Linked DNA regions of Homo sapiens: all the other regions are linked to region 2. Evidence: promoter capture Hi-C in human tissues and cell types (Jung and others, 2019). All regions are on one chromosome and are shown on one strand. The core of a region is centred on a gene start or on the middle of the fragment in contact, and the rest is flanking DNA. Distances in the headings are between cores, read along the strand shown. Region 1 holds the start of KRTAP4-11 (keratin associated protein 4-11). Region 2 has its middle 12 kb from the start of KRTAP9-2. Region 3 holds the start of KRTAP29-1 (keratin associated like protein 29-1). Region 4 holds the start of KRTAP4-6 (keratin associated protein 4-6).

Evidence for each region. Contacts are between HindIII fragments. The study calls those that stand out against the background at their distance.
Region 1: the fragment with the promoter of KRTAP4-11 here is called in contact with a fragment that was not itself captured in region 2 in 5 of the 25 tissues and cell types used here (IMR-90 fibroblasts, aorta, mesenchymal stem cells and 2 more).
Region 3: a contact is called between the fragment with the promoter of KRTAP29-1 here and a fragment that was not itself captured in region 2, in 2 of the 25 tissues and cell types used here (IMR-90 fibroblasts and lymphoblastoid cells).
Region 4: the fragment with the promoter of KRTAP4-6 here is called in contact with a fragment that was not itself captured in region 2 in 2 of the 25 tissues and cell types used here (IMR-90 fibroblasts and bladder).

What each region holds. Positions count from the first base shown.
Region 1 is chr17:41,114,310-41,120,577 of GRCh38, reverse strand. KRTAP4-11 (keratin associated protein 4-11) reads left to right here and starts at 2,205. Exons shown (of 1, transcript NM_033059.4): 1 at 2,205-3,397. The coding sequence starts at 2,263. The coding sequence ends at 2,850. The HindIII fragment of the contact is 2,482 bases long and covers 2,143-4,624 here.
Region 2 is chr17:41,211,853-41,218,291 of GRCh38, reverse strand. It overlaps the pseudogene KRTAP9-12P. Among named protein-coding and RNA genes, the nearest start is that of KRTAP9-2, 12 kb to the left of the region's middle. The HindIII fragment of the contact is 7,634 bases long and covers 1-6,288 here.
Region 3 is chr17:41,300,080-41,305,821 of GRCh38, reverse strand. KRTAP29-1 (keratin associated like protein 29-1) reads left to right here and starts at 2,971. Exons shown (of 1, transcript NM_001257309.1): 1 at 2,971-3,996. The coding sequence starts at 2,971. The coding sequence ends at 3,996. The HindIII fragment of the contact is 8,416 bases long and covers 1-5,490 here.
Region 4 is chr17:41,138,119-41,144,382 of GRCh38, reverse strand. It overlaps KRTAP4-6 (keratin associated protein 4-6), which reads left to right and starts at 3,839. Exons shown (of 1, transcript NM_030976.2): 1 at 3,839-4,950. The coding sequence starts at 3,896. The coding sequence ends at 4,513. RefSeq lists a silencer at 1-103 and an enhancer at 4,195-4,707. The HindIII fragment of the contact is 4,215 bases long and covers 2,490-6,264 here.

The sequences.
Region 1 (6,268 bases), core at 956-3,455, 97 kb after region 2:
GACTGATACGAAACAGGAAATAATAGTTATTTCAATCAACAAGAGTAAAACGAGGAAGTCAGGAGGTGAAGGAGAACCAGTGCTACCATCTGGCGTTTACTTCCTTCCTGTCTTTTTACTGTGTGAATATAGGCATGCACGTTCAACACTGTATTCTTGGTTATCTATAAACAAGTCTCATTCTATAAATTGAATCTTGACTTCCGCAGTTTCCACGTATGTTATTTATCGGGTGACATGTTACCTATCACACAAATGAGTTTAGTCTTCCTGAAATGAAATTATGATTTCTTTGTTTGGGATGTTTTCCTCCCTTTTATCCAGAAGTCAAAAGATATATACATTTTTTAAAGGACCTTACATGCCTCTATGTCATCAAAAAAACCTTCATTCACTCAACAAACATTTACCACCAGTGTTCTCTGTGCTGAGTATCATGGTAACGAGAATAAATGCCATAGCGCAAGCCTTCAGGGTATTTGCATTGCACGTGGTGGAAAGACAGAAGTAAATGACTATGATACAGGAGAATGTATAAATTATGAGCACAAGGCAGGAAATCATGATACATGAATGGGGTAGCTTAGCAGGAAAGATATTATTGAGGAGGAAATATTTTAACTGGGTCTTGACACATGAGTAGGAGTTTGCAGAGTGGACAAAAAAAGATGAAACATTCCAAGAAGATGAAGCAGTTTCAGCAAGCTTAGCAAATTGTATTCTTTACGGCTTTCTTGGCTACACTAAGACATATTAGGCTTACTTTCTCTTTAACCTTGGACAAGTTGTTTGTTTGTTTGTTTTAAGTTTTTAATGCTTCTTTTGAGTATTCCCCTAAAAGACTAATAAGAATATAAACTAGTTCATAAGGTTCTATTAAAGCGTGAAAATGAAACAAATGTAAGATATTTGGTACAATGCCTGCTACATAGTCAATACTTCACAAGTAATATACATACCATGAGGGTGTATGGAACTTATCCACATATTATACATTTCTTATTTTAGTTGTTTAATGAAAATAATTGTAATTCTTTTCATTTCTGCCAAACTGTTTCCTATCCATGTGTCTTATGCAAGTACCTGCAAGAAAAAGTTGAGGGTTTATCTGTTCTACACCCAGAGTACCCAATAGAACATCTTGGATGCATGTTATTGAAGGCTTAATAATTCTAAATATTCTTTATATATAACAAATGCTTTTGTAAATGAAAAATCCATCATGCAATTTTGATGATCAAAGATTAATCAGGCTGGGTGTTGGGGGCTCATGCCTGCAATCCCAACACTTTGGGAAGCCAAGGCAGGTGGATCACGGGGTCAAGAGATCGAGACCATCTTGGCCAACATGGTGAAACCCTGTCTCTACTAAAAATACAAAAGTAAGCTGGGTGTGATGGCGCAAACCACCTTACTCGGGAGGCTGAGGCAAAAGAATCGTTTGAACCCAGGAGGTGGAGGTTGCAGTGAGCAGAGATCATGCCACTGTACTCCAGCCTGGCGACAGATTGAGAATCTGTCAAAAAAAAAAAAAAAGATAAATCAAAACTTCCTACTCATAATGCATATACTGTAAGACATACAGCAAAATGTGTTTTTACCCTTTAAAGGCAGTGAGTCATGGGTAAGTACTTTCGCTGGAGGCTGTGGAATAAGATCTGACAGAGTTTAGAACTTCTTGGGATCTGACCATCTGCCCGACCATCCGAGATGCACACATGGGATCAGAGTCATCCTCATTACAGATGGGACATCCTTCCCCAAATGAGTGCTTCCTTCTAATTCCTTCCCAACATTTCACCTGACCAGGACATTCTTTGACAACAAAAGATACATTCACATTATAAAAATCATCCCCCATGATTTGCAGACAGCAATCTGCAGGTAGGAGGGAGAGTCACATTTAAAAACAAAATGTCAGAGAGTCCTGTGACCAGTGCTTTGTAAAAGACACTGCATAGACCAGGGACAAAGGTGACTCCCCACTAATGAAGAAATATGACATGCATTTCCAATGGAAACACAGGAGCACAGCAGGAAAAGGAAATGGGTTATTTTCTCTGTTTTGGAGTATTTAACTGGAAACACAATGATGTAATTACATGATTAATTTTTCCAGTAGGTAAATAATAACAAGGAAATAATGATGTGGTGGCAATGGGCCTTCAGGAGGGTATAAAGGGACTACAGGCCCAGGAGACTTCCAAACACAAGAACTTCACTCTCCTAGAAACCCAACTAGATCCTTCACCCTCTGACACCATGGTAAACTCCTGTTGTGGCTCCGTGTGCTCTCACCAAGGCTGTGGCCGAGACCTCTGCCAGGAGACCTGCTGCCGCCCCAGCTGCTGTGAGACCACCTGCTGCAGGACCACCTACTGTCGCCCCAGCTGCTGTGTGTCCAGCTGCTGCAGGCCCCAGTGCTGCCAGTCTGTGTGCTGCCAGCCCACCTGCTGCCGCCCCAGATGCTGCATCTCCAGCTGCTGTCGCCCCAGCTGCTGTGTGTCCAGCTGCTGCAAGCCCCAGTGCTGCCAGTCTATGTGCTGCCAGCCCACTTGCTGCCGCCCCAGATGCTGCATCTCCAGCTGCTGTCGCCCCAGCTGCTGTGTGTCCAGCTGCTGCAGACCCCAGTGCTGCCAGTCTGTGTGCTGCCAGCCCACCTGCTGCCACCCCAGCTGCAGCATCTCCAGCTGCTGCCGCCCCTCTTGCTGTGAATCCAGCTGCTGCCGCCCCTGCTGCTGCCTGCGTCCAGTCTGTGGCCGAGTCTCCTGCCACACCACTTGCTATCGCCCAACCTGTGTCATCTCCAGCTGCCCCCGCCCCTTGTGCTGTGCCTCCTCTTGCTGCTGAGCCCACTGCCCTGGCTCATCTCTCCCTTCACTGCAGGCCCACAGTTGTAGACCATTCTTCTGTGCTGACTATTAGGACACATGGAGTGGGATTGATGTCATTCAGCAGGGTGGACTTCATGTTTCCAATGAGCCCATCACCATCCCACTGACTCTGTGAGAACATTCTGGTTCATTTTAAACTCCCTCCCTTGCTTTCTTTCTCTTCCAGTCATGGCACCAAATATGAAATAATTTGTAATCCACTAGCTAAGAAATTATTCCAATCCTCTAAATTCCTCATTTTTTAAATCGTTTTGAGCCTACAGAATATCCTTCCCAGTGAGGTACACATTATCTCCATTTCAAACATATTATTTGTCTGTCAGCCTTTCAGTCATTCTTTTCTCTTGGAAAGGTAGGAGGCTGCCCCTCCCATGCTCTCCTGCTTTCTCCCTGTTCTCTCTTTGTCTCTGTTTGTTCAAGTTTGCCAGAATTTTTCTATTTTATTGGTTCTTTATCTTTATTGTGTTCACAAAATATATTGTATTAAACTTTTCATTTAGAAATCTTTTATTGTTTTTTGCATTTTTTTGTGATAATTTTCACTGAGTTTACTGATTCATGGGGGTGAGGTGGGAATGCAGTAGAAGGGGATTCTCAAAGCATGATTCCAAAGTAAGACTTCAGGGATGAACTCATAGTGCCAAACTGCTCCAATGTCACGCATAAACTAAAATAAAATAGAAGCTTTTGATTGTTTCAATTTGATATATGGAATGCTTTGGGATAGGTAAAGCCCCAGTATTGTTGTTTGTAAGTTCATCCATGATTTTAGAACTTATGATATCATGGTAATACTCCTCACTCTTCTGTGTCAAATTTAAAAGGCACATCTCATCCTACTGCATTCCATCTTGATTCAAATCAGTTAAGGCAGACTCCAAATGTTATATAAGGGAATTTTGTTATTTTGTTGTCGGTGGACCAGTTCAGGTTCTTGAATTTGCTGTGCAAAAGAATTTGAGAGCAAATCCAAAGTAAGAGTAAGCGAAGAAATTTGTTGCAAAGCAAAAGTACTCTTTGAGAGGCAGAGTGGGGTGCTCAGTGGGAGAGACAGCAGCTAGTGCTGTAAGAGGAATTCCTTTTATGGGAGCTATACGTACATAATCATAAAATACTGGTGAGGTCAAGTATGCAAAGGCAGACCTGCGGTTGGCACATGTGCTCAGGATCCACGTGGTCTAACACCCATCGCATGTATCATTAGCATATGAAATCTCCGCCTTGGGGTGTTTTTCTTGTTGTGGTTGTTTTTACTATTAAAATGAGGAAATGGTTACTATAAGCTGAACCTTGATCCTAGCTGTGCATGCAGGACCCCAGAGAAGTCCCTGCCCACCCTCCCAAACACCCCACCCCAGGAAGGAATTTGTAGTTAGGAGTTTCTTGGGCTTTTGGTGCAAATTGGCTAGAGATTGGGGAAGCTGCATCAGGAATAAAGGGCTTTTGCTCTCTTTCCCAGGTTGTACTAGGTATCAGGAACTTGTAACCCTCTGGTGGGTCTGCTTCGATTCTGTAGGACCCCTTATCTTGTGAAAGAGTTAGGCACTGATGCACAAAGGTTCAAGTGAAAAGAGCTTGCTGTGAAAGGATCCTGCTGGGCTTCACACAGGGGACAAGTCAGTATGGCCTTGTGAACCCCCAAAATCGGAGACAGGTCTCAGTTTATTTAGAAAGTTTATTTTGCCAAGGTTGGGGATGTACACCTGTGACACAGCCTCAGGAGGTTCTGAAGACATGTGCCCAAAGTGGTCAGAGCACAGCTTGGTTTTATACATTTTAGGGAGACATGAGACATCAATCAACATATGTAAGATGAACAGTGGTTCCGTCCGGAAAAGGCGGGACAAGTCTAAGCGGGGAGGGGCTTCCAGGTCATAGGTAGATAAGAGACAAATGGTTGCTTTCTTTAGAGTTTCTGATTAGCCTTTCCAAAGGAGGCAATCAGATATGCATTTAACTCAGTGAGCAGAGGGGTGACTGTGAATAGAATGGGAGGCAGGTTTGCCCTAAGCAGTTCCCAGCTTGACTTTCCCCTTTACCTTAGTGATTTCAGGGCCCCAAGGTTTATTTTCCTTTCAAATTTCCCCCCTTTTCTTAAAAATCTTTTTGAGAAAGCCTTTTTGAAGAAAGTCAGTCTTTGGTCTCAAGTTTCATCTGATATCTCATGGCTAGGATTGTTTATTCCTAGAAAGATAATTCCTGAGTTATTAGGAAAGTTCATTTTTAGCAGGTTGTGAAGTTTCATGTCCTATGAAGAGAAAATAGGGGGAGGAAGGGAGAAAAACAAAAATAAACAAAAGAACAATCCTGGAAAATCAATATGGGCCACATTACTCTGAAGTCCATACATCAGTAGGCAGGTATGAAAGTGGCTTATGTATGTAAACAGGTTGCTGGTATTTTCTTCTGAAGTTTAAATTCTCTAGCTCCAGTTCGCAGGGCTTTACAAAAGCACAGATGAGTTTTCAGTGACTCCAAATTAGGAAAAATGGGGGAAAGAAGAAGAAAAAAAAACTGAAAACAATCTTTTGAAGACCTGTAGCCAAGAAAAATTAGAATTCAGTGGAAACTGTAGAAAATAATAAAAATGGGAAAACATTAGGCAAGACTAGAATCTAACAACAGGTGTATTATCATTTTTTGAAACATAATTCTTCTCTCTCCCATTTCCCATTTTTACTAAAGACAAATCATGGCAGGGCTGATTTTCTTTATTATACTTGACCTGATTATTTGTATACAGCGCAGCCATAGTAATACTTTTTTTTTGCATAAGCTTTTAAATTGCCTTTGATGGAACTGAAGCAGGATGTTTCCCTGACCCCTTTGTGGGACTTGTGACGGGTGCCTCGTTTATTCAGCCTGCCACTCTCAACTCCTTGCAGGAGCGAGCATGCAAGCAAATGAGGCAGGAACTGGAGTGCACGTGTGCTGGAATCGGCACTGCAGCACGGTAGGATCAAACTTCACTCACTGGGACCTGCTGCAGTCCCCTGCTTGTGGGAGGAAGCATGCAGGTGAATCAGTGCAGGAGCCAAAGTGAGTGCTTTTGGCCACCGGCAGGAGCAAACTCTGTGTGGGCCCCACAGCAGCATCTAGGTGGGGGTGCCTGCGACCCCCATAGCCCCAGAGGGCATGTTACAGTGTTCTTTTAACTCTGCCTTCCATGGATGGCTTAAGTGTCAACAGCTCAGTGAGGCCTCTGCCTTTTTGTGTGAGGCAGCTGCCCTCCACCAGCAAGGGCAGAGGGCCAGTGTGACAGTCTTTTGTATCTGCTCTCCTGGCTCCCAAGCTCTTGTCTTGTGTCCAGGAAAAGTGAGGTCACATGAACCAATCAAAGGATGGTAAATGTGGGGGATTTTGTTGCTGATGAA
Region 2 (6,439 bases), core at 1,222-3,721:
TATGTGAATTTGATCCTGTCTTTATGATGCCAGCTGGTTATTTTGCCCATTAGTTGATGCAGTTTCTTCATAGTGTCGATGGACTTTAAAATTTGGTATGTTTTTGCAGTGGCTGGTACCAGTTTTTTCTTTCCATATTTAGTGCTTCCTTCAGGAGCTCTTGTAAGGCAGGACTGGTGGTGACAATATCCTTCACCATTTGCTTGTCTGTAAAGGATTTTATTTCTCCTTTACTTATGAAGCTTAGTTTGGCTGGATATGAGATTCTGGGTTGAAAGTTCTTTTATTTAAGAATGTTGAATATTGGCCCCCACTCTCTTCTGGCTTCTAGGGTATCTGCAGAGAGATCCACTATTAGTCTGATGGGCTTCCTGGCTTCCCTTTGTGGGTAACCCGACCTTTCTCTTTGGCTGCCCTTAACATTTTTTCCTTCATTTCAACCTTGGTGAATCTGACAATTATGTGTCTTGGGGTTGCTCTTCTGGAGGAGTATCTTTGTGGTGTTCTCTGTATTTCCTAAATTTGAATGTTGGCCTGTCTTGCTAGGTTGGGGAAGTTCTCCTGGATAATATCCTGAAGTGTGTTTTCTAACTCGGTTCCATTCTCCCCATCACTTTCAGGTACACCAATCAAACATAGGTTTGGTCTTTTCACATAGTCCCATATTTCTTGGAGGCTTTGTTCATTCCTTTTTATTCTTTTTTCTCTAATCTTGTCTTCACGCTTTATTTCATTAAGTTGATCTTGAATCTCGGATATCCTTTCTTCTGCTTGATCCATTTGGTCATTGATACTTGTATATGCTTCACAAAATTCTCGTGCTGTGTTTTTCAGCTACATCAGGTCATTTATGTTCTTTTCTAAACTGATTATTCTAGTTAGCAGTTCCTGTAACATTTTATAAAGGTTCTTGGCTTCCTTGAATTGGGTTAGAACATGCACCTTTAGCTCAGAGGAGTTTGTTATTACCCACCTTCTGAAACCTACTTCTGTCAATTCATCAAACTTATTCTCTGTCCAGATTTGTTCCCTTGCTGGTGAGGAGTTGTAATCCTTTGGAAGAGAAGAGGCATTCTGGTTTTTGGAATTTTCAGCCTTTTCTTGTGCTGGTTTTTCCTCATCTTCTTGGATTTATCCACCTTTGGTCTTTGATATTGGTAACCTTTGGATTGGGTTTTTGCGTGGGCATCCTTTTTGTTGATATTGATGCTGTTGCTTTCTGTTTGTTAGTTTTCCTTCTAACAGTCAGGCCCCTCTTCTGCAGGTCTGCTGGAGTTTGCTGAAGGTCCACTCCAGACCCTGTTTGCCTGGGTATTGCTGCCTGCTCCTTCCTCTGGAAGCTTTGTCCCAGGGGGCACCTGCCAGATGCCAGCCGGAGCTCTCCGCTATGAGGTGTCTGTTGACCCCTGCTGGGAGGAGTCAGGAGGCATGTGGGTCAGAGACCCACCTGAGGAGGCAGTCTGTCCCTTAGCAGAGCTTGAGCGCTGTGCTGGGAGAACAGTCGATCTCTTCAGAGCCCGCAGGCAGGAACGTTTGAGTCTGCTGCTGAAGCTGTGCCCACAGCTGCCCCACCCCACAGGTGCTCTGTCCCAGGGAGATGGGAGTTTTATCTGTAAGCCCCTGAATGGGGCTGCTGCCTTTCTTTCAGAGATGACCTCCCGAGACAGGAGGAATATAGAGCGGCAGTCTGGCCACAGTGGCTTTGCTGTGCTGAGGTGGTTCCGCACCCAGTTCGAAATTCCCGGCAACTTTGTTTACACTGTGAGGGGAAAACTGCCTACTCAAGCTTTGGCAGTGGTGGGCGCCCCTCCCCGCACCAAGCTCGAGTGTCCCAGGTCGACTTCAGACTGCTGTGCTGCCAGCGAGAATTTCAAGCCAGTGAATTTTAGCTTGTTGGGTGCCTTGGGGGTGGGATCTGCTGAACAAGACCACTCGGCTCCCTGGCTTCAGCCCCTTTCCAGGGTAGTGAACAGTTTTGTGCCGCTGGCATTCCAGGCACCACTAGGATATGAAAACAACAACAACAACAACAAAGCAAAACAAAAACACAAAACTCCTACAGCTAGCTTGGTGTTTGCCCAAACAGCCACCCAGTTTTGTGCTTGAAGCCCAGGGCCGTGGTGGTGTAGGCACCCGAGGGAATCTCCTGGTCTGTGAGTTGTGAAGACCATAGAAAAGCATAGTAGCTGGACCAGATAGCACCATCCCCAGAAATACCATTTGATTCAGCAATCCCTTTACTGGATATATACCCAAAGGAATAGAAATCATTCTATCATAAAGATACATGCATGCATATGTTCACTGCAGCACTACTCACAATAGCAAAGACATGGAACCAACCCAAATGCCCATCAAGAGTAGACTGGATAAAGAAAATATGATACATGTACACAATGGAATACTATGCAGCCATAAAAAGGAACTGGATCATGTCCTTTGTAGGGACATGGATGGAGCTAGAAGCTGTTATTCTCAGCAAACTAACACAGGAACAGAAAACCAAAATGACATGTTTTCATTTATAAGTGGGAGCTGAATGATGGGAACACATGGACAAACGTTGGGGTGGGAGAACAACACATACTGGGGCCTGTTGCAGGCAATGAGAGGGAGGGCATCAGGAAGAACAGTTAATGGGTTCTGGGCTTAATACTTGGGTGATGGGTTGATCTGTGTAGCAAACCACCATGGCACATTTACCTATGTAACAAACCTGCACATCCTGCACACGTATCCCAGAACTTAAAATAAAAGTTGATAAAATAAAAAATAAATAATTTAAAAAATTTTTTAAAATTTCTGGAGACAGATGATGGTTGTCTAACAACATGAGTGTACTTACTTCCACTGAACTGTATATGTAAAAATGATTATAATTGTGGTTGGGCACGGTGGCTCACACCTGTAATCCCAACACTTTGAGAGGCTGAGGCAGGTGGATCACGAGGTAAGGTATTTGAGACCAATCTGGCCAACATAGTGAAACCCCATCTCTACTAAAACTACAAAAAATTAACCAGGCATGGTGGCACATGCCTGTAGTCCCAGCTACTCGGGAGGCTGAGGCAGGAGGATCGCTCGAACCTGGAAGGCGGAGGTTGCAGTGAGCTGAGAACGTGCCACTGCACTCCAGCCTGGGTGACAGAGCAAAATTCCATCTCAAAAATAAATAAATAAATAAAGATTATAATTGTAAATTTTATGTGTATTTTACCACAATAAAAAAACAGTAAGCCAGGAATAAAAAGTTTTGATGTGAAAACAAATTATCTCTCAAAGTTTGGGTGCAAATGAAATGTGGCCTAAGTTTTTTGGGCCATGACTTAATCTTCTATTACCATTTATTTAGGTGACCAGAAGAATGAGGACAAACAGAATGCCAATTCCATTATTTCAACAAACAAGTATTTCTAGATGAGCCTCTCACACCAAAGTCCCAGGACAGAGGCAGGAACACAATGGGTGCTCAAAAATATTTAAAGAACTTCACCAGTGCCTGACAAGAGACTGAGAATATAAAATGTTCACATGATTCACGAGGGCTCTTAAAACGAGTTGTTGCTCTTAAGATGTGGCTATTGGTTAGGGGAATGAATTTGGAAAGAACTTTGTTAGTAGAAAATGGTCTGCAAATGCGTGGAATTGGTGTTTCCATTGTCAGAGAACAACTTCGAGTGCACCCCTTCCCGGTTCTAAGTCCTTAGTATAATTCTGTAAATGTGACATCAGTAGAGGTGAAATCAGAAACCCTGAGCCTAGAGCCAATTCTGTCCATCCTTAGCTACATGACACGATGCAGGCCACTTTACTCATCTTGGTTCTGTCCAAGTTTGAGGCTTCTATGTGACTTAGATGAGATAATATATGTGAGATGCAAAACAATCACTGAAACAAAACAAAACACAACACAGGAGGCACTATAGTAAACGCTTTATTAGGAAATAAATAAAGCAATGCTCCTTTCTGCTAAGAAGATAATACAGAGTTGTCATGGAAAGTCACAAAAGTGAGTATTAATTTGAAACAAAATGATATTTATCATTGTAAAGATCTAATAAGGGCCGGGTGTGGTGGCTCATGGCTGTAATCCCAACACTTTGGGAGGCCGAGGTGGGCAGATCTCCTGAGGTCAGGAGTTTGAGACCAGCCTGGCCAACATGGTGAAACCCCGTCTCTACTAAAAATACAAAAAATTAGTCAGATGTGGTGGCAGGAACCTGTAATCCCAGCTACTTGGGAGGCTGAGGCAGGAGAATCACTTGAACCTGGGAGCACAGAGGTGTCAGTGAGCTGAGATCGCGCCATTGCACTTTAGCCTGGGCAACAAGAGTGAAACTCTGTTTAAAAAAAAAGAAAAAAAAAATTAATAAGACAGCTATGAGAATTTTTTTTCTTTTTAGAAATTTTCCTAGAGTAAAAAAACAAAGATAATTTTGTCAACGCTCAGATCATAAATCCAGGTCAAGAACAGATGAAGCTGACCAGCAGCTGGCTCAATGAAGAGACTATCGGAGTGAAAAAGGCTACACTCATTAAGCAAGTTCATAATTTGTTAACAAGAAGATGACTGACAGTTTAGTGACAGTATGTATGTTATCAGCAGAGGAAGTGGAGTGAGTTTGCCATAGAAATGGATATCTGGCCTGGGCGTGGTGGCTCATGCCTGTAATCCCAGCACTTTGGGAGGTCAAGGCGGGTGGATCATCTGAGGTCAGGTGTTTGAGACCAGCCTGACCAACATGGAGAAACCCCATCTCTACGAAAAATACAAAATTAGCTGGGCATGATGGCGTATGCCTGTAATCTCAGCTACTCGGGAGGCTGAGGCAGGGGAATGGCTGGAACCCAGGAGGTGGAGGTTGCGGTGAGCTAAGATCATGCCATTGCACTCCAGCCTGGGCAACAAGAGCGAAACTGGGTCTCAAAAAAAAAAAAAAAAAAAAAAAGAATAAATGGATACCTGGCTGGTCTGATGATGGAAGTTTATTCTATGCAGGTAGTAATCTGTGGTAAGTTGATCAATAACTGCAAGGCTGGCAGCCCCTAGACACACAACAGGCTGATTGGCAGCAGGGCTAGCAGCAGCTGGATCCATAGCTCTGGTTTAGGCAACCTGTCAGGCAGACACACATGGGGTGGTAGCAAGTTCTCCTGTAGTAGATGGGTGCACAGAAGCTGGGCTGGCAGCAGCTGGACCCACTGCCAGTTTGGCCGTAACAGCTGGACCCACAGCAGGTGGGCTGGCAGCAGGGTGTGCTGCAGCAGGAAGACTGGCAGCAGCTTGTCACACAGGTGTACTGGCAGCAAGTGGTCCTGCAGCAGGTGGCCTCACAGTAGGCTGGGCAGCAGGCAGCAGGGCTGGCAGCAGCTGGATCCACATATCTGGTCTAGGCAACTAGGCAGGCAGACACACATGGAATGGTAGCACGTTCTCTGGTAGACGGGTGCACAGCAGCTAGGTTGGCAGCAGGATGTGTTGCAGCAACTGGGGGGGTGGCAACAAGACTGGCAGCAGCTGGACACACAGCAGGTGGTCCTGCAGCACGTCGTAGGCTGGCAGCAAGGGGAGCAGCAGTGGGTCATGGCGTCAGGGGTGGAGGGTGCACTCCTGTTCAGAGGTGAGTTTCCTAGAGTTTGATAACGTTATTCAATCTGAACCTTTTATACATGGTACCCCAAAGTTTTGATTAATGAGCAGAACTTGTCTTTGATACTTCTCTAGTCTTTTGGGAAATGTCCCAAGGAGGAAGTTGTCTATTCAGTGCTGTGAATTTTCTTTGAGTAATTGATTTATTTGCTTTCTTAATTGACAAATAACCAGTCAGGACTATTTTCCTGAACTGAGAAATGAATCATTCTCCCTACCAATTAAGCACTGATCCTCATTTTTAAAGCTGAGTACAGTATTTGGTCATCTAACAGGTCCTATGTAGCTTAGTGAGATGTCAGGACAATTGTTAGTCACCATCTGTTTTTCCTTATTGCTATTTACTTTGGAAAGTACCTCTGAAGATAGGATGATGTTGAGTCATGGTGATGAGTTAAAAACCAAGTTTAGGGAGGGCTTGTGATGCCACCTGTAATGTAGAAGCTAGTATAAGATTTATCCTCCTGCTATAAACAATAATAAAAGCTTTGTAAATATATAAAACAACTGTTTGCAGATATTGGATGACAATCAGCTTTGGGTTATGATCCTTGAAGGAAGACACATGGGGTAAAAAAAGAAACACATGGGTTTGTATGTTTTCAAAATTGCTGCTGCAGCACATCCTGCTGCCAGTCCACCTGCTGCAGCAGCTGCAGCTGTTATGGCCAAATGCCAGAAGAAATAGAGTCCACATAGAGAGCAGAGGAGAGATAGGCGTTAAAGGGGTTTATCACAATTCCTTCTCTCAGTCTGAAATGTGATTTTTGATGGTTAAGTTTTCTAAAG
Region 3 (5,742 bases), core at 1,722-4,221, 87 kb before region 2:
GCGCACGCCTGTAGTCCCAGCTACTAGGAGGCTGAGGCAGGAGAATTGCTTGAATCTGGAAGGAGGTTGCAGTGAGCCAAGATCACTTCACTGCACTCCAGCCTGGGCGACAGAGAGAGATTCTGTCTAAACACACACACACACACACACACACACACACACACAGGAGTTGGCTAGGGTTTTGAACCTCTGTGCCAAGCACTGGACTAAGCATTTCATATGGATTACAGCAATTCTTTGAAGTAATATGTATTCTCTCCTATTTTTTCACCTATACATAAGATGCAGAATTCGAAGGACAAACAATCCAAGTGCCCATCAATGGACAATTAAATTGTGGTATATTCACCCAATGGGATATTATACTGTGAAGATGACTGGAAAATGGCGACATGCAATAGCATGGATGAATCTTACTAACATAGTGTTGATTGATATAAACAAGCTCCAGAAAACCATACGTGTGTGTATATATTTATGTATATTAATATAATGTGTGTATATATATACACACACTCAAACATATATGTGTGTATTGTTCAAAAACCACAGACACACATATGTATGAGTATACATGCATTTATACACATATGTACACACACAAACACATATATATAAAGGGAGTGATAAAATTCACGATTGTCATGGCTAATAAGTAACATGCAAATGACTAAAACCCAGTTCTTTCCAAAGCCTAGGTTCTGTATGGATCATGATATGTCTCAATGTGGTCACAGGTGTCTTTGTTGATACACTAGGTGTTTTTAGTGCCTTGAACTACAGCAAGACAGATGTTCTTGCTATTAAGAGTTTCCTTTAGGAGAAAAGAAAACAAGAGCAGAATCACTTAGAGAAAAATGGATGTAGAATGGATTGCTTTAAAACTATAAAAGTGGTATAGGATATTGGACTGAAGTTGATGTGATTTTTCAAACATGCTCATGTTCCCAGTTTGATTGACATATTTGGTAAGACTGAAAGTATTAAATACATCCTCTGGGAAGATGAAGAGCTTTGGGGGTAAATATTCAGCAATAAAACACAGTGCATGGATTCCTGCAGATTGAAAGATGCCAACATGAATACAGACAAGAAGGAGGGCAAAAGAAGTGATCCATGGTGTGACATAGAAACCAACTGTGGGGAAAAAGGCATTTCAATGGCAGGGGAGAAGGTTTTCCAGACATTGTTCTGATCAAAAATGTTTCTCTTCTTTTTAAAATGGAGGTGAAGAGGGTGCCAAGGAGAAGGCATTTTGTAGCTGGGGGTTTGCAAAGTACCCTTCAGCGTTTTCAGTATTTTCAATAATTTGTGAAGCAACCAAAGCAAACAAACACCCACAAAAAACTAACCTGAGACATGACAACGCAGTTGATGAAATCGCCATACTTTGAAGACTTAGGTAATTAGCTAACATATTCAACAGAATGAGTTAGTGGCAGAGCCAGAAATCAAGGCCAGCCCCATCTGGCTCCCCACACCGTGATCTTTCCACTCCGTCATGTGCCTCCAGCGTGAACCGGCCAGAACGTTGGCTGGTGTAGAACACCGGACCTGGTTGGTGATGCGGAGCCAGGACAAGCCCGGAGGAAAAGCAGAAGGGCCAAGAAAGTCCCTCACGAATTCCTCTTGGAAGGGATTGGTTTAACATTAACACCACTTTACAGTGATTTTTTTTATTATCACTGCTGGCGTGTTTTTATTTGTATAGAATTCATATGCTATTGATGCCCTAGGGTGGGTTTGATACTTCCTGATGAAATATTTGGTAGTTTAAAAAATTTCCAAAATTAAAAGACTGTGTTTGAGTGTATTGATAAGTAGAGGTAAGTACTCACACCAGTGTGGTCTAGCTGCTGATTACAGTCACTGGAGTGGGCGGAGGATCCCCAGGATGGGGCCTGGGCAACCTGCTCACGAGCCAGTCTGTTGCCATAGGGGTGTCAGCCTGCAGCCACTATATCAGTGTCGCCTTCTCCCTGCCTCCCCAAAGTCAGGGGGTCTAATAGGTGGTTAAGATCAGGGGTTTGGTGGTCAGACAAAGCTAGGTTTGAATTTTGTTTCTACCCCTTTTCATTTGCATAATTTTGGGAACATGATTTAAACTCTATGAGTTTTGCCACTTCTGTTTTCTTCTTTTCTGTTCTAAAAAAATCTTGAGAGGAACCAATTTGGGGGAGATTTTAAGCTTCCTAAAAGGGCCAATGAAGTTTTATATTTTAATCTTAACTTTGTTTTAAACCTGGTTTCTTCTTTATTTATTACTTTTTTTTAGTTTTGCCACTTCTAACATAGTGATGACAATTATACTTACTGAAGTCATTGTGAGGATCCAGTGAAAAATGCAGCCAAGGACTTGATCTAGTAACTATGCAATAAATGAAAGCCATTTCTATTGTTATTATTAGTAATAGTACTAGTAAACAAGTTTCAGGAATGATAAATGGGAAGGTTTTAAAAAGAGGTAGAGGCACTTAAGTGTCCCTGGGTTCCTTGGACTAATTTTCCATTTCCCGTCTTGACATCCTCTCCCCAAACTGGGTCAAGGCTTCATTTCTGATTGAATGGTGCAAAGCTGCATTCCTGGAGGAACAGCAGGGCCACTCTGGCTTGGCAGAGGCCTCCTGATGAAAGGTTAGTGCCAGGAAAGGCCTGCTTCAGTGAGGCTGGAGAGCAACCTGTAAAAGAGACAGCTCATCCAAGAGCAGGAGCAGTGTCAACGAATCCAAATGCAGCGCAGAAAACTCCCGACTCAACAGACACCTTTTCAAAGTTGAAACATCTCCCAGGCTCCTGAAGCCTGCTAATCAGATGTTTGCATGCAAATGAGTAAAAACAATAACAAGGAAAGATGCTGCATGGCGTGCCAACACCCCTAGTGAAGGACTATAAAAGCCCCTCTGTATCGGATGTCTTTCCAATGCAGGTATACTGAGCTTGCAACTTCCCAGCAAGGTCAGCACCAGCACCATGGCAGACGGCTGTTGTCCTGGAAACACCACAGCCATTCCAGCTGTGCCCACCATCACCACATACCCAGTTAAAGGTGGATTTCGACATGCTCTCTGTTTGCCTAGTTCCTGCCACAGCAGAATGTGGCAACTGGTCACATGCCAAGAAAGCTGTCAGCCATCCATTGGTGCCCCAAGTGGCTGTGATCCTGCTTCGTGTCAACCTACCCGCCTTCCAGCAACGTCTTGTGTGGGTTTTGTTTGCCAACCTATGTGCTCCCACGCAGCCTGCTATCAGTCTGGCACTGGTCAGTCTCCTTGTCTGGTTAGCTCATGTCAGCCATCCTGCTCGGAATCTACTTGTTGTCAGGAAAAGTGCTGCGATGCCAGTCCCTGCCAGCAAAGCTCCTGCCAGGAATCTGTCTGCATGTCTGGATCATGTCAGGCAGCTTGTGGCCAATCAGTCTGCTGTGATGCTGGATCCTGCCAGCCATCCTGCTCTGAAGTGACCTCCTGTCCGGAAACTTCTTGCCTACCAACCATCTGTACAGCTAGTCCATGCCAACCAACTTGGTGCCAAGGAAGTTCATGTCAACCCGTCAGTGGTGAAGGCCAGCCCTGTAAATCAACTTATTATCAACCCATCTGCTATATTTTCAAGCCTTGCCAATCAGCCCTCTACATGCCTGTTCCCTGCCAGCCATCGACTTGTGTGTTCAGTTCTTGCAATACTACTTGCTGTGTGCCTTCCCATTGCCAGCCACCTCACTGCCAACTGGTTCCTTCCACATGCTTCATCTACCAGCCAGTGGCTAACTGCCAGGCCCCTTGTTCCACAAAGAACTGTTGCAAACCAGCTTCTTGTGACACTGTGATTTCTGGCCAACCAACTTGTGATGGACCCCCTTCCTATAACCAGAGTGGCTGCAAATCAGCTTGCTGTGTGACTGGTTTAGGCACATCACCCAGTAGTGGCTCCAATTGCTTGCCGACTTCATGCCAACCCAGCTGTGAGTCCAGCTTCTGCAAGGCAACACTTTGTTAATGGAGCCCTCTTCACACCTCCTCTGAGGGTCTGCGGCTGTCTATAAATGCATAGCCATCCCTGGGTGCCTGCCTCCCACCGAGTACAAATGCTGCCTGCTTTCTAACTTTACCCTGATTCCACCTTCACATTCTCTCCAGGTGCTGACCAGGGAACTTGTCCAGGCACGAAGAGATCCTTCTTAACCGAGAATAACCTTTCAGCAACCATGGACTACCACACTGCTGCTTGCATTTCCTGATGATGTCAATTCATTTCACTTTAGCAAACCCTCTCTTGTTTCTCTTTCTTGATGCTGCCTGGTCTTTCAGAAGACCTCGTTGCTGCCAGCTGCTAATAAAAATGTGACTGGTTAAGTATAATAAATAAGACTCCTGGAGTGCTTTCATTCCTACACACACCTCTATGTAGATTTCCTTCAGGTCACATTTGAACACAATGAGCCTGAGTCATCTAAGTCAGTGGGTCTGCATTGGTCTGCAAGGGTAGCTAGTGTCTAGGATTATAGATTCTCCAGCTGGACGAGAGTAAGGGCAAACAGTTCACTGGCTTCCAAAATTTTCACCACCAAGAGTTCTTTTGAGCTGAGTGGGCTCATTTTCCCTATAGTGAGTAGACAGGAAGCCAACAACAAAAATGGTTCTGGAAAGCCACAGATGAAAACAAACATGAGGTATTGGCCATAGAGAATAGCTTAGGGTTAATTCATTTAAGATTCTTTTTTTTTTTTTTTTTTTTTTGACACAGAGTTTCACTCTTGTTGCCCAGGCTGGAGTGCAAGAGCGTGATCTCGGCCCACCGCAACCTCTGCCTCCTGGGTTCAAGCGATTCTCCTGCCTGGGACATTGTGTCAGCTGGCTAAGGAGAAATATTCATAGGATCCCTTTGTATTATCATAGAGCAGGCAATGAAGGGTGTACCTGTAGGTGAGCAGCAATAATTTGGTAACTAGCAAACAAATCTTCATAGTTCACATTTTTCTGTCACTGAGGTATACTTTGGATCTGTAGAGAGACTATTAATTGTTTTATCCCCAGTTTTAGAATCACAAGGGTCGTAGTCTTGAAAGAAGGTTCTGGGTCAAAAAAGAGGGGGATGGCCATAAGAACAAAATCTAGCACCTGAACATGGAAGGGTCCAGGTGGAGAATTTCTACCTGCAGTTGAATTGACTAATGTCAGCACTGAATCTCTTCTTGAATTGAATTCAAGAAGCATTGAATGCTTCTTGAATCCCTAGATATAGGTGGGCTTATCATTTCAACAGTTCAAGTAGCTAGATCTGTTCTAGTCTTCTAATGGGTATTTTCCTTTTATTTCTAACTATGTATGGGTATTGCCTTCAGTACCTTTTCTACCCACACACATGCACACACATATAGATGCATACAGGTACACACACACACACTCAGATACAGATGCACACACATACATGCACACACACACTCACACACAGACACACACCACATTTCAACTTAGTTGTATGGCTGCACTTAAGGTTGATTTATTTGCTCCATGATTTACAATTGCCTATAAAACATGCCTAGCCAAACCTGAGTAAAGTGCACTAAAAGACTGATTTTAGCATTTTAGCCTTCCCCATCTAACTGGCCCAGCTGATATCACCCTCTTGTTCCCCCCTGCCCTTTGGATGACTCCTGTCCCAGTTTAAATGGTTGGACTTCTGTCCTTATGTCTTTATGACCAGTGCCCTGACTTTCTCCCAGATCGGGCCTTCTCCCCAACC
Region 4 (6,264 bases), core at 2,590-5,089, 75 kb after region 2:
GGTCTTGATCTCCTGACCTTGTGATCCACCTGCCTCGGCCTCCCAAAGTGCTGGGATTACAGGTGTGAGCCACCACGTCCAGCCTCACTTCAATTTTTTAATGGCATCTCTTCCCAGAAATCCAGGAGTGTTTTGTCATTTCTAAAGGCAGATCAAAAATTAAAATACATTGTGCATAGCATATATTTTGAAAGCACTTTTGCCAAAATTATAACAGCAAGAAAAATGAACCCACTGGGCGGTTACAATATCACCTAACATTCCTTCCTGAAGGCTTTTCATAGCTCCCTACCATTTCTTCCAGGATTTGAGGGTACCCACAATTTCTCCCTCATGCTATCAATCCCAACTTCTCTCATTACTTCTCAAAACAGACCTTTCAGCATATCACTTTCACCATCACAAGCCAGGGTCATGCCCAATCTCAATTATGTGCTCCTTTTATATCCCCTTTCTCTCCACCTATTTGAATGGTTTGTATTCTCAAAGGTCAGTGTGACCCTTGAAAGCCTTGACAAAATCTTCATCCATTAAACATATGTTTCAGGTTCTGTTATATAAAGATGAATAGATCATAGTCTATGCCCTAATGGAGTTTGTATTTTAGAAGGTGCCAATAGACAAATGAATTTCTGAGAGAGAATCAGATGGTAGAGGCTGTGCATATATAAGGCACAACAGATGTGCAGTGGAGGAAGGACCTTGCTTTGTGTGAGAACAAGAAAGATATTGGAGAAAAATGGCATTTGGACAGTAAAAAACAAATAGAAGAATGCTAAATTAAGAAAATAAAAAATATTTTACCCCAAAATATATTTTTTGACATATTTTAAGATGGCTGCCACATGACCAGCAGACTAAAGTGGCCCTGCAAAGCTGTCTTTTGTGAAGGAAATTTGCATCTGTAGAGAATCTCCATTAATGCAGTCAGGCCTTCTCATTATAGGCCTTTCCTGGATCTAGAAGAGAATAACTGACTGTCTGACACCCTTAGAGTTCTGAAAAAAATCATTTACCATCTCTTTTCTCTGAGAGTTGCTACCTGTGAGATTTCATCCACATAACAAGACCCCCTTTGCTGGCCAAGCCTCTTTCTTTCTCCCTCCCATAACCTGTTGATATGGTTAGGCTTTGTGTCCCCACCCAAATCTCATCTTGAATTGTAGTTCTCATAATCCCCACGTGTCATGGGAAGGACACAGGGGGAGGCAATTTAATCATGGGGTCGGTTACCTTCATGTGATAGTGAGTTCTCATGAGATTTAAGGGTTTTATAAGGGGCTTATCTTCCTTCTCCTCTGCACTTCTCCTTGCTCCCACGATGTGAAGAAGGATGTGTTTGCCTCCCCTTCTGCCATGATTGTAAGTTTCCTGAGGCTTCCCCAGCCATGGTGAACTGTGAGTCAATTAAACCTCTTTCCTTTGTAAATTACCCAGTCTTGGGTATTTCTTCATAGTAGCATGAGAATGGACCAATACACCTGCCTTGCCACTAAAACCTGTTTCCTGTTTTTGGCCATGCTCTGAGCCCTCATTCTTTCTGGGACCTCAAGATGTTGTATAAGCTTCTGTACCTTATTGAGGGGTTGAGTTTTCATTCTGAAGGCTCTTGGGTATACTTGTTAGATAAATGTGTATGCCTTTTCTCCTACTAATCAATCCGCCTCAAGTCAGTGATTTTTCAGTGAGGAAAATCCTTCCTCCATTGCACTTCTGTGGTGCCTTATTTACACATGGGCTCTATCATCTCATTCTCCATTGGAAATTCATGTGTCTATCAGCTCCTTCTAGAATACAAACTCCACTAGGGCAGAGATCTCCAGGTTCCTCAGGCCCCACATAAGTTCACAAGAGACATCCCTTCATTCCCAGGAAGAGAAAATATTGTGAAGGTAATTTGTTCTTTCCTTGAATAATTGCTTTTCCCTGAATGTCCACGGCACTAAAGAAGACCCTTTATTTAGAACCATGATCATGTGAGGATTTTATTTAAAAACTCTTTATGGGCCGGGCACAGTGGCTCTCTCCTATAATCCCAGCACTTTGGGAGGCCAAGGTGGGTGGATCACCTGAGGTCAGGAGTTTGAAATCAGCCTGGACAACATGGTGAAACCCCATCTCTACTAAAAATACAAAATTAGACGGGCGTGGTGACACATGGCTGTAATCCCAGCTACTTGGGAGGCTGAGGCGGAAGAATTACTTGAACCTGGAAAGCAGAGGTTGCAGTGAGCTGAGATGGTGCCACTGCACTCCAGCCTGGGCAATAAGAGTGAAACTCCATCTCAAAAAATAAATACATAAATAAATAAAATAAAAACTTGTTATGAATGCAATTTCTGTGTAAATGTAACTGGACCCAGGTTCAGCTGCTTGCTGCTGGAAAGCCAACACATAAGAGGCAAGGGCTGGTGAAAGGAAAGTTAGTTCTAGTTGGAGAGCCAGTAAACCAGAGGATAACCTTGCTTTGTGTGAGGCCAAGAAAGATATTGGAGAAAAATGGCATTTGAACTAACTGGTAATGAATAACTAGAAGAATGCTAAGTGAAGGAAATAAAAACATTTCACCCCAAGATATATCTCACTGACATCCTTTAGCTAGTGAACTAGCATTCTAAAGTGCCATCTTAAATTTTAAAATTTGCCATAGGGTTTTGAAAGGGAAACTTGGCATGGGAGACATGCAGGGGTGGTGCAGGGTGCTGAGTCTGCATGTCTTGTTCCAATGGCTATCTTGGGTGTCCAGAGGTTTGGGAGGCATTATTTTGACTTCAGCCCAATGGTGGTGGATTAATTGTTCAAGATTCCCCCTAAGTGAGAGGATTCCTCAGGGCTCTGTGCCTGGTTTGTTTCAAGATTAGCCTCTGGAATTTCTTAAGCAAGAATATAATTAGATAAGATATTAGATAGTATTGCCAGAAGGGAGTGTGCAGAGGGAAGGAATGAAGAGGTGAGAGGGGAGGAAAGGAAGAGAAAGTGGGTGATTTTTAAAATTGAGGTCCACAGTTACATAAGTACCTGTAAGTTAAAGAATATATCTTTTATATTCCTCTCAATGCTTCTTAAAAAATCTTAGAAATAAGTGATACTAAAAAAAAACCCTGCTAGATGTTTTAGCTCAAAATGTATGAAAAAGATTTTAACAAAATGTCAATAAAGCATAACCATTACACATTTGATATTTCAAAAGGCAGATCAAAAACTATGATCCACATTACTCTACTTCAGCCTGTAGGACACTTTTGAAGACAGACGCAGCTCAAGCCCAGATGATGCTTTGTTCCTTAGAAACAGTGAGTCACTACTAACTGTTTCAAGGTGCACCAGAGTGATGAGAATTAACACAGCTTGCAATGACCTAGGAATTTAGTTAGCTCAATGGCCACCCAGAATACATACAATGAATCATAAGCTTCCTTATTTCTCACACTCAAAAACAGGAGCATATTTTCTTTTTTTCCTGTCAGCATTCCAGCTGATTGACACATGCATTTCTCCACTAGAGATCTTAGCCCAATCAGAAGCTCTCCCAAAACGATATCATGATGAGAAACAGACAAGTGACAGTGGCCCTCCCATGTCACATGATACCCAGAGACTGAAGTCATGTGACACTGAAACCAAGGAAAGGAAAACAAGAGGTGACTCATGTGGGAACACCAGGGTGAGAAAAGGGAAATAATCATTTTCTATATATTGGGATTTTTTACTAGAAAAACACAATATAATTTAGTAATTGCATTTGTGTCATATAAACAAAAACAAGGAAACAATCTTCTCATAATCACAAAGGCTCCTCAGCTGGGTATAAAAGGGGACATGCAGCAAGGAGACTCCCAAACTCACGAAACTCACTCTCTTGGAAACCCACCCAGAACCTTTACCCTCTGACACCATGGTCAGCTCCTGTTGTGGTTCCGTCTGCTCTGACCAGGGCTGTGGCCTGGAGACCTGCTGCCGCCCCAGCTGCTGTCAGACCACCTGCTGCAGGACCACCTGCTGCCGCCCCAGCTGCTGTGTGTCCAGCTGCTGCAGACCCCAGTGCTGCCAGTCTGTGTGCTGCCAGCCCACCTGCTGCCGTCCCAGCTGCTGTCCCAGCTGCTGTCAGACCACCTGCTGCAGGACCACCTGCTGCCGCCCTAGCTGCTGTGTATCCAGCTGCTGCAGACCCCAGTGCTGCCAGTCTGTGTGCTGCCAGCCCACTTGCTGCCGTCCCAGCTGCAGCATCTCCAGCTGCTGTCGCCCCAGCTGCTGTGTGTCCAGGTGCTGCAGGTCCCAGTGCTGCCAGTCTGTGTGCTGCCAGCCAACCTGCTGCCGTCCCAGCTGCTGCATCTCCAGCTGCTGCCGCCCCTCTTGCTGTGAATCCAGCTGCTGCCGCCCGTGCTGCTGCCGCCCCTGCTGCTGCCTGCGTCCAGTCTGTGGCCGAGTCTCCTGCCACACCACTTGCTATCGCCCAACCTGTGTCATTTCCACCTGCCCCCGTCCCTTGTGCTGTGCCTCCTCTTGCTGCTGAGCTCCTTGCCTGAAACTATCTCCTCCCCTTCAGCTCACTCCTCACAGAAGCAGACCTTGTGCATCTCATAAACAACTCAGAAGAGGCCATTCCCACCAACTGTGTTTCCATATCCTGGACATATATCTAGGATATATGTCCTGGCTATACATCTAGAATATATGTTCCCCATGTTGACCCAAGTGTGAAATTAGATATTATTTACAGAAAGAAATTAATAGAATTTACCAAATTTTATACCTTATATTTGTATTTATGGATACCAAGTTCTTCTGTCCCAAACATGGAAATTCTTGCAGGGTAACTCGGGGCAAGGTTGTCTCACTCTCAGATTTGAAAGTCTGATTGTTTCACCCTGTATTTCCTTTTACAGCAATGTTTCTGTATCTTATTTTTGCTGCTTCTGAATAAAACTCCACTTTTGTCGCATAGAAATACAATGTTCTTTTTGTGTTGCTTTGTAATGATTGTCCTTAGTTCCTGAGAAATTCCACCCAAAACACAACTGAACGAATCCTATTCTTGCTCTCACCTTCAAGAAAATTGCAACATGTAATGACCTAAAAAAAAGGCAATACATGGATGTTTCCAAAAGTATTGAAAAAAATAAAGATTTTAAGTTAAGTTTTTTTATGAATATGGAGAAGGGTTATATCCCACAGCTAAATTTTCTTAAATATTTTTGAAAGTGTATCTTTCCCTACAATCTCACTCCTCTCTTATTTGCTTTATTTTTCCGTTTCCCTCCTCCACCCATGGCCCCCGATCCTGTCATCTTGTTCTGCCCTTATCTCTTTTATCCCATTCTTGTAAAACCAGAGGCTACTCTTTAAGGTTTATCCATCTCTCGTGTAATTCAATTTATCACACTCTCAGCTGCTTTAATTTCATCTCCATCCATTAACAACAAAATAATTACCTTTAGGGAAAATCAATCTTCTGAGAAGTTGGGGAATTGCAGAAAATGTAAAATACTCAAATTTTAGTATTTTTCCTACCTTAATGACTTTTCTGTGGTGTGTATTTAATAGCATGGTCTTGGGGCACATGGTCTTGGTCAATAAATTCTACAAAAATGAATTTTCATAGAGAAATATGGGGACTTAGAAGAAACCAACTAACGGAATAGTTTGGTTCTTAGTTAAACCCAGAATATGGCCTATAAACTCCATCCTAGGGGGAAAATGGTGAAAATAAATTTTATGTCAATTCAAGCTAGTAAAAGCAGGAGAAACATTTAGAAAGTTCTGTACTAAATACATATTCTAGGAGTTAAAGGTCCAGTAAATAATGTAGTGGTATTGAATCATGAATCTTTAACTTCCATAGGTTCTACTACATGAACGAACAATAATTTAGACTGTGTAGGGGCATTATTCCTTCACACCACTTACAGCACACAACTCCTAATGGGTCAGAGAAAGTAGGTGAAAATTAAATGAACCTCCAGTTGGTCTCAGCATATGAAATGGGACTTTGAATGCCGTGGGACTGAATGTGGCTTCCTGGTCATAGGGAATAAGTGTCTGAGAATAAGACATCTATGCCCTGAGCTGTGGGACACTCCATCACTTGTAAGTTGAAAACAAAGCAACAGAAACCACAGGAGACTGGAAAGGAATCACCAGAGAAGTAAGACAACAACTAGCAGAGTGCAAGGTCCAAAATCCCGATGAAGGAAAGAGTGGTCACTTGAAAAAGTAAAGGACACTCACAGGTAGGAATTGAACAATGAGAACACTTGGACACAG